Linked DNA regions of Homo sapiens: region 2 is linked to region 1. Evidence: promoter capture Hi-C in 16 types of primary human blood cells and fetal thymus (Javierre and others, 2016). All regions are on one chromosome and are shown on one strand. Each heading gives the region's core, a stretch centred on a gene start or on the middle of the fragment in contact. The rest is flanking DNA. Distances are from core to core; before and after follow the strand shown.

What was found. The method cuts DNA at HindIII sites, captures the fragments that hold promoters and counts their contacts. A CHiCAGO score of 5 or more calls a contact.
Region 2: a contact is called between a fragment that was not itself captured here and the fragment with the promoter of MCM9 in region 1, in 1 of 17 cell types (total CD8 T cells). The highest score is 5.2, in total CD8 T cells.

What each region holds. Positions count from the first base shown.
Region 1 is chr6:118,932,965-118,936,944 of GRCh38, forward strand. It overlaps MCM9 (minichromosome maintenance 9 homologous recombination repair factor), which reads right to left and starts at 2,195. Exons shown (of 14, transcript NM_017696.3): 1 at 1,927-2,195. LOC124901389 (a long non-coding RNA gene) reads left to right here and starts at 1,951. Exons shown (of 2, transcript XR_007059729.1): 1 at 1,951-2,026. RefSeq lists silencers at 1,444-1,693, 1,944-2,373. The HindIII fragment of the contact is 20,540 bases long and covers 1-3,980 here.
Region 2 is chr6:118,281,362-118,285,341 of GRCh38, forward strand. SLC35F1 (solute carrier family 35 member F1) reads left to right here. Exons shown (of 8, transcript NM_001029858.4): 7 at 3,823-3,977. Among named protein-coding and RNA genes, the nearest start is that of PLN, 260 kb to the right of the region's middle. The HindIII fragment of the contact is 482 bases long and covers 2,013-2,494 here.

The DNA of each region.
Region 1 (3,980 bases), core at 945-3,444:
ATTCAATGTCCATTTCCTAATATCTATCATGTACAAGGCACTATGCTGGCAAATGAAAAGTATAGTAAAAGGTTCTCTATGTCCTCAGAAATCCAAGGGGCAAATAAAACGAAACAGTGCACTACCAGTGGTCAAAAATGCAATATGAATAGGAGTCAAAGGAGAGGGAGGTTAAATTTAAATGAGGTGACGATCTCAGAAGTAGCACTGGACAGTTAGAAACCAGCTGTCCAAATAAGAAACACTTATTTGGGGCCGGGCGCAGTGGCTCACGCCTGTAATCCCAGCACTTTGGGAGGCCGAGGCAGGTGGATCACGAGGTCAGGAGATCGAGACCATCCTGGCTAACACGGTGAAATCCCGTTCTCTACTAAAAAAAAATACAAAAAAAATTAGCTGGGCGTGGTGGCAGGTGCCTGAAGTCCCAGCTACTCAGGAGGCTGAGGCAGGAGAATGGCGTGAACCCGGGAGGCGGAGCTTGCAGTGAGCCGAGACCACGCCACTGCACTCCAGCCCGGGCACAGAGCGAGACTCCGCCTCAAAAAAAAAAAAAAAGAGAGAAACACTTATTTCGTTTGGAAAGAGATTGAGGACTGGAGAAGAGGTGTACTTAAATTTGACTTACTTCATTTGTCCAACATTTATTGTACTGGACTCTACAAATACGAATATTAAAGGAGACTGCTATAAAGTTCACAGTTTATCATCCTAAGTACGTGTTATACACGCTATTTGCTATATTTTGCTTTCTCTGAGAACCTACTATTCCGCAAGGTGTGAAACGTTTAAGAAGTACATATAGCAGTTAGGTCAAGAATCCTGACCACTATAGGAGGCCAGAGTGAGAGTAAGAATGAGTAAATGTATATCCAAAACAATGAGTGGAAATAAATTACGGCCTCCACGGTAATTTGTTTTTGGTTAAGCAATATAAATTCAGCCAAGTGTAAAGCAGAAAAAGCACTTGGGAAGGAATATCTCCACAATGTGGACTTTGCCCAAAAAAAAAAAAAAAAAAATCTGGACTCCCAACAGTGGCTACAAGAGAATCACTATGATTCTATTAAAGCATATTAAGTTTAGAGCCACAAATTTAGCAATTTGAAAAACAGCTCCACACAAGGCAGGAAAAGGGCAGCAGCAGAATTCAACGTTCAAATTAAGGTCAGATTAAATTTTGCCTAGTTAGGCTAGCATTTCTATGGTTATATGGACCATCGTTATTCATTCCCTTTCAACATCTATGCAAAACTGACTAATCAACTGTGTTATCAGCAGTTTGCTAAATCAATAAACGTACCTACTACCCACCCAGATAGACACTGGAGGGACTTTTTGTTTTGAGAAGGGTCATTTCACAACTTTCAAGTTCTCTTTCCTTTTCTTATTGAATATTTGGGGTCAAAATAAAATCATTTGCTTTACTTTGTCCTCTTGACCACAGCGAAGCGTCGAAAAGAAGACAGGAGAGTGCCTAACTGCACTGGCATCCCCCAGCTGTCTCCGGGAATCGCGGCAGCCCCGCCCCGCCCGCCTGCACCTGCCGGGAGCCCCGCCCCCTCCGCGCGGGCTGGCGGGACGCGCGCCCTCGGCCCCGCCCCACTCCCTCCGCCCCTCTCACTGCGGGGGCGCGCCATTTCGCGCCTCCGGGCCGCTCGGCTGCCCCAGGGGCGCCTGGCAAACGTGGAGTCGCTCGGTTTTGGAGGCATGCTTTCCAAACTTTCTAATTCACAGGGTCTTTGCACGCAGCCCCTGCCCCACAACACCTTGGCAGTCTCTGAGACTTCTGGGGCTCTTCTCCCGGGCAGCTCCCGTGCCTGTCCGGTCCCGGAGTTGAATAGTTTTTGAAGTAATGAGACGGGAACGAGACTTGGGACGAACTGGAGAAAAACATAACCGCGAAAGGAGGAGGCGGCTATCACTTACTGGCTGTGTCAGAAGTCGCCGGGAACGCGTTGCTCCCGAGGCCGAAGGGCCCAGAGAGCTCCAGCCAGGCAGCGGGTTCGTCTCCGGCGCAAGAAGGCTGGTGAGGCGGAGTGCGCGCGTGCACGTGGCCGCTCGAGGCGCCACCGGCCGCGGGGACGCGCGGGCTGTGTCGGGCGGCCTAGCGCCTGCGGCTCTGCCGGGCCTGCGCTCTCGACCGACGCCGGGCCGCGCACCGCCTCAACTTCCCTGCCCCGGCGGCTCTTCCGGATGGAGACGAGGCAGCGGGGCGGGGTGGAGCGGAGCGGGCGGATTGGGGCGGAGCCAGGAGGGTCCCGGGCGGGGAGAGGGGCGGGACCCGAGCAGTGACCTCAGGCTAAGTGGCCAGAGCAGGGTTGTGCGGCGGCTCAGATCGGATCTTAGGGTTTGTTTTTTGTCTGTCCAAGGAATTTGCCTAACCCAAGGCCACAGAGGATCTCTTCTGTGTTTTCTGACACAAGTTTTAGAATTTTAGGTTTTATATTGAGGTCTGTGATCCAATTAGAGCTAATTTTTGTCTGTGGTGCAAAGTATGGATCTTAGGTCATTTTTTTGTATGTGAATAGTGTCATTTGTTTAGAGAGCTTTCTTTTTCTCACTGAATAGCTTTTGCACCTATGTTTAAAATCAGTTGTCCCTAAAGCATCAGTTGTGGGTCTATTCTTAGACTTTCTATTCTGTTCCGACAATTTATTATATTTCTCTCTACAAAAATACCACATTGTCTTGATTCCTGTAGATTCGTAAGAGTCTTAAAATCAGATCGTGTTTGGCCTCCAATTTTTTGTTATTTTTCAAAAATGTTCTGGCTCATCTAGTCCCTTGGGTTTTCATATGAATGTTAAAATCAGCTTGTCACTTTAAAAAGTTGGGATTGTGATTGGTTACATTTCGTCTATAGATCCATGTAAGAATAATTTACATGTTAACAATATTTAGTAATGACCCTTAAAGTAAGCCTCTTCATTTATTTAGGTGTTATTTCACTCAGCAAATGTTTTGATCTTTTGTCAGGTCTAGTCTTATATAGTCCATTTTCACAGTGCTAATAAAGACATACCTGGGACTGAGTAATTTATAAAGGAAAGACGTTTAATTGACTTACAGTTCAGCATGGCTGGGGAGACTTCAGGAAACTTAAAATCATGGCAGAAGCGGGAGCAAACCTCCTTCTTCACAGGGCTGCAGGAAGGAGAAGTGAGGAGCAAGGAGGGAAAAGCCCCTTAGAAAACCATCAGATCTTGTGATACCTCACTCACTATCAGAGAACAGCATGGGAATAACCACCCCCATGATTCAGTTACCTCCCACCGGGTCCCTCCCACAACACCTGGGGATTATGGTAACTACAGTTCAAGATGAGGTTTGGGCAGGGACACAGCCAAACCATATCACCCTATGTCAGATTTATCCATAAATCTAAGGATGGGGGAAAAATATACTTCTTGATATTATGTAAATGACATTTTAAATTTTCAGTTGTTCTTTGATAGTGTCTTAGTCTGTGTTGCTAAAAAGGAATGCCTGAGACTGAATAATTTACAAATAAAAGAGGTTTATTTGGCTCACACTTCTGCAGGCTGCTTCTGGTGAGGGCTTCAGGCTGCTTCCACTCAGTGAAGGGGAGGCTGCCTGTGCAGATCACATGGCCAGAAGAGAAGCAAGAGAAAGGGGAGGTAGTGGTCAGGCTCTTTTTAACAATCAGCTCTGGAGGCAACTAACAGAATGAGAACTCATTATGCAATGGCAGCACTAAGTTTTCCTGAAGGATCTGCCCCTGTGACCCAGACACCCCCAACTAGGCCCCACACTTGGGATCAGATTTTAAGATGAGATTTGGAAGGGAGAAATACTCAAACTATGTCAGATAGTGTGTAAAAATATGATTGGGGGTTTTGTTGTTGTTGTTACAGGTTCTTGCTCTGTTGCTCAGGCTGGAGTGCAGTGGTGTGATCATGGCCCACTGCAACCTCTGTCTGCCAGGTTCAAGCAATCCTCCTACCTCAGCCCCCTAAGTA
Region 2 (3,980 bases), core at 1,004-3,503, 650 kb before region 1:
AGTTACTTAACCCCTGTAAGCTGGTCTGTTGCCTGTTTACTCACAGATCCATCTTTTACCCTTTCCTCTGCTCTGCTTATGCAAATCCACATCCCAGCCTCCCTTGTCAACTGGATTCCAGTCAGTTTTGGCCAATGGGAGGCAGTAGAGGGAGATTGGAGGTGGGAGAAAGAAAGAAAGAAACCATTGTTTCTCTCTGTGTCCCTCTGTTTGGGGTCAGATCTCCTCTAGATGTGGCTGAGTCTCCTCTGTGATTCTACCCCTGCTGGGCTTCCCTAACTTCTGATCTCAGGTAATGTGGCCTCCCTCTTGTATTTCCCTAGCTCTTGGGTTGTGAGTAACTCCCTGGTATTGCTAATCTTCAGGTTGTCTCACCATCCCTGTTTCCCCATCACCCATTTGAACACCTTTGTAACTTGTACTCCATATAACATATCCTCTATTTAACCCAGTATGGACTGTGTTTCTTGACTCTATAAGCCTATTTCCTAACCTGTATAAAGAGGATAGCAATAGTTATCAGCATTACACTGTTGTGGAGATTAATTACTGTACATAAAGTACATGACACATAGTGAGTGCTCAATCCATATTAGCTGATAATAGTATTTCCCATCTCTGTAGCTTAAATCACTTTAGTGCATAAGGACAAGAGTGATCAAATTCTATCCTTAGTGAGAGAGAGAACATTCCAAGAGGAAATGTTTATACACATACTCTGTTATAAATGTAGTTACTGCAGCCATTTTGTAGTTGTCAGTCAAAAAGTAATTCAGTTCATTTGTATGATCATGCTGATCAATTGAAAACCCTACCTGGACAGCAAGTTGGACTTTCAGAGGCATTGTTAATGTCCATTAACTATCTAATGTCCATCTAAGAACAGCCAAGGAAGGGCAACGATACTGCATTCCAACTCTCAATTTAATCATGTGTTAACTAGGCTGGCTATGCTTTGCTTGGGAAACAGTATATTCACATGCAAAAACATCGGTTGACCTAGTTGTCAATTGTGATAGTGTATATATTCCACTCCTGTCCCCCTACCTCTAATTTCTGCAACATTTAAAAATAGGTTGAGAATATTTTAGCTGGAAGCATCATAAGGTAGCCTGGTTAGCAAAGTGCCATGTATTTATTTCCCTACTCTCCTTTGCTCACCAACTGGGCTTGTAAAATCTCACCACTTCTCTGAGTCCTCCAATTATATATCCAGCTCCCTACTGGACAGATCCTTTTGGATAATGCATAAGCGTCGAAAACAACACATTCAAAATGGAGCATTTTATTTCTCCTGAAAATCTGGTCCTCTTTTAGCTCCCTCCATCTCAGTATATGGCGTCACAGTTCACCTAGTTTCTAAATTAGCCAGAACCCCTGGGCATCCTCCATGCTCTCCTTTCCCTCACCACCTACATCAGTCTATCACCAGGGCTTCTTGAGTCTTCACAGACCACTTCCCTTCTCCACTGCCGTTTCGAGCAAAACCAAGCAAGCTACCAGCCTCTCTTGCCGGGATTGTGACACCGCCATTCTAACTGGTCTCTGTAACTGGTCCCATGCTTTTCTCCTTCCAATCCCTTCTCCACAGAGTAGCCAAAATCACCTTTTGAAAATGTAGATCAGATTCTTTTAGTCAGCTGCCGCAAACTCCTCAATGGCTTCCTCGTACAACTAGAATAAGATACACATTCCTTTCTGAGACCTGCAAGGTCTGGCATAATCCATTCCCTTCCCAATTTTCCAGCTTCCTCTGCCCGTTCTCTTCATTCTGCTCAGCCATTGTGGCCTTGGTCAGCATCTGGGACACTTGAGGCCCTGTCCCTTTCAGGAACTTTTCATGTGCAGGTTTCCTTGGCTCCTCTCCTGGCAATCTCCTTTTGGTCCTTCAGCACTCGAGGTAAATGCCACCTCCACAAAGTAGCCCTACCTCACCACCCTGTCTAAAGCAAGCTCCTGACATTCTCTTTAAGAAACACTTGTCTTTCTGCATAGCATTAATAGCAACTCTAAGCTTCTTGTCTATCCTGTTTTTCATTGTTCCTAGCCCACAGCAGAGTGCTCAGGGCATGGTTAGTACTCAGAGAATAATAGTTGAATAAATGAGTGAATATACCAACAGAGCCCACAAGTCAAAGTCCACGCAAAATGATGGAAGGGTATTATTCTGGAACTTTCTAACCCAGTCATGGTATTTAAATCAGTGACACCTTCAAAAAACAAAAGAAAAACGGAAACAAGGCTCTGGTGCCTAGATTGTGTTCCGATCAAGTTTTATTATTTTTAGTGGATTAATTTGAGGATTGATCTTGTCCCTAGTCTGTTAATCACAGATTTCTTTAAGGAGTACCAAATTAATTTTTATGTCTTTTCATGTATTAGTCATAAGTTATGTAATACTTATTGCATTTTTAGTAGTTTGGTTAAAAGGAAAATGCACTACAGGGAGCATGAAACCCACATGCAGAAAAACGGTCCGTTTTTAGAGAATTCAAGCTTCTGATAGAGAATTAAAAACCAAACTAATATTACTGCGATAGAATCTACACGTAGGACTTTTACCTTTCCGAAATAGGAAAGTGGTTGTTCCCCCTTCCTCTGAGGGCACTTCTACCACGCTAGAGGGGGCTGTTGTACTGAGTTTACTTACTTATGTTCAGAATAATTTTTTTGTAGATCTGATGTGGCTTTCATATGGAACGATGATTTGTGCCCTTAAGCACTTTTCATATGGGTAAACCCAATTTATCTTTGGATGAATCCCTGGTCTTCATAGTCAGAAAGACCAGATATTCGGTACCTACCAAACTCCCCAAAATCCCTAAGTCAGAGGAAGCAAATCTGCCCACAGCCCACACCAGATACATTTAATCAAGGATTCCTTTGGAAAGGTTATTTTTATTATGTTGTAATACCAAGGCAGACACTGAATTTTAGCACTTATGCTTATCCTATGCCTTATTCTTTCAAGGTGGAGAAAAGAGCATTATTTTTTTTTTACATTTGCATTGTATCAACATTTGGGGAAAGTATAGATTTAGCTGTAAACTCCTGCTTGGGACCCTGCAAAACAGAGTACCCATGTCTAGGCATAATTACAGAGAAAGAGAGAGATTTGAGGATGAGAGATTGGCCACATAGTATTTTAAGGTCATGAAAGCCCACATGTGAGAGTTCACAGTATGCCAGGACATGTGATGGAAGGGCAGGATTCTGTGTGTTTTGGGTAGAGCAGAACAGAATTCAGAAATCTGGAGGAGACTGACAGATCATCATGTATTCCCAGCAATGAATTCGTCCACCCAAGGCCACACAGTCAAGATTCTAATTCAGTATTCTAAGTCCAGGTCTCTTTGACATGCAAGCTCTTCAACTTTAAAGACTACGTAGTTATTCATCATTGTGGGCAATACATGATAGCAAGCAGTTTTGTTGCTATTACTCAAATTAAAAACTAAGAGGTAAAAAAAAGTTTCAAAATAGATGAGTAGCAAAAGCTGATTACAGCACAATTGGGAGAATTCAAAAACCTTGATTCTGTGTTCTGACTATCGCCACTAAGAGGCACTCCTTCCCAGAAGAAGCAAAATGTCAGCAATGCAATAAGAAGCAGAAAGTTCATTTTTCACACTTAATTTTTTTTAATCTAGTTTAATTTTTGTACTGTGTTATCCAATAATAAACATCAGTGAATAGGGGAAAAGAGAAACTGCCTTGTGTGAGTGACAAGTGGTGTGCACTCTTCCCCTTCTTTCCTGCTGTGGATGCTGAAGATGCCCTGGAGGAGGCCCTGACGCTGCCTTCTCTTTACTCTTCCCCCAGGACTGCTCTACGTTGGCTTTAGTGCCTGCATGTTTGGTCTCTACAGCTTTATGCCAGTCGTCATAAAGAAAACCAGTGCCACTTCAGTCAACCTCTCCTTGCTCACAGCAGACTTGTACAGCCTGTTCTGTGGATTGTTTCTCTTCCACTACAAGGTA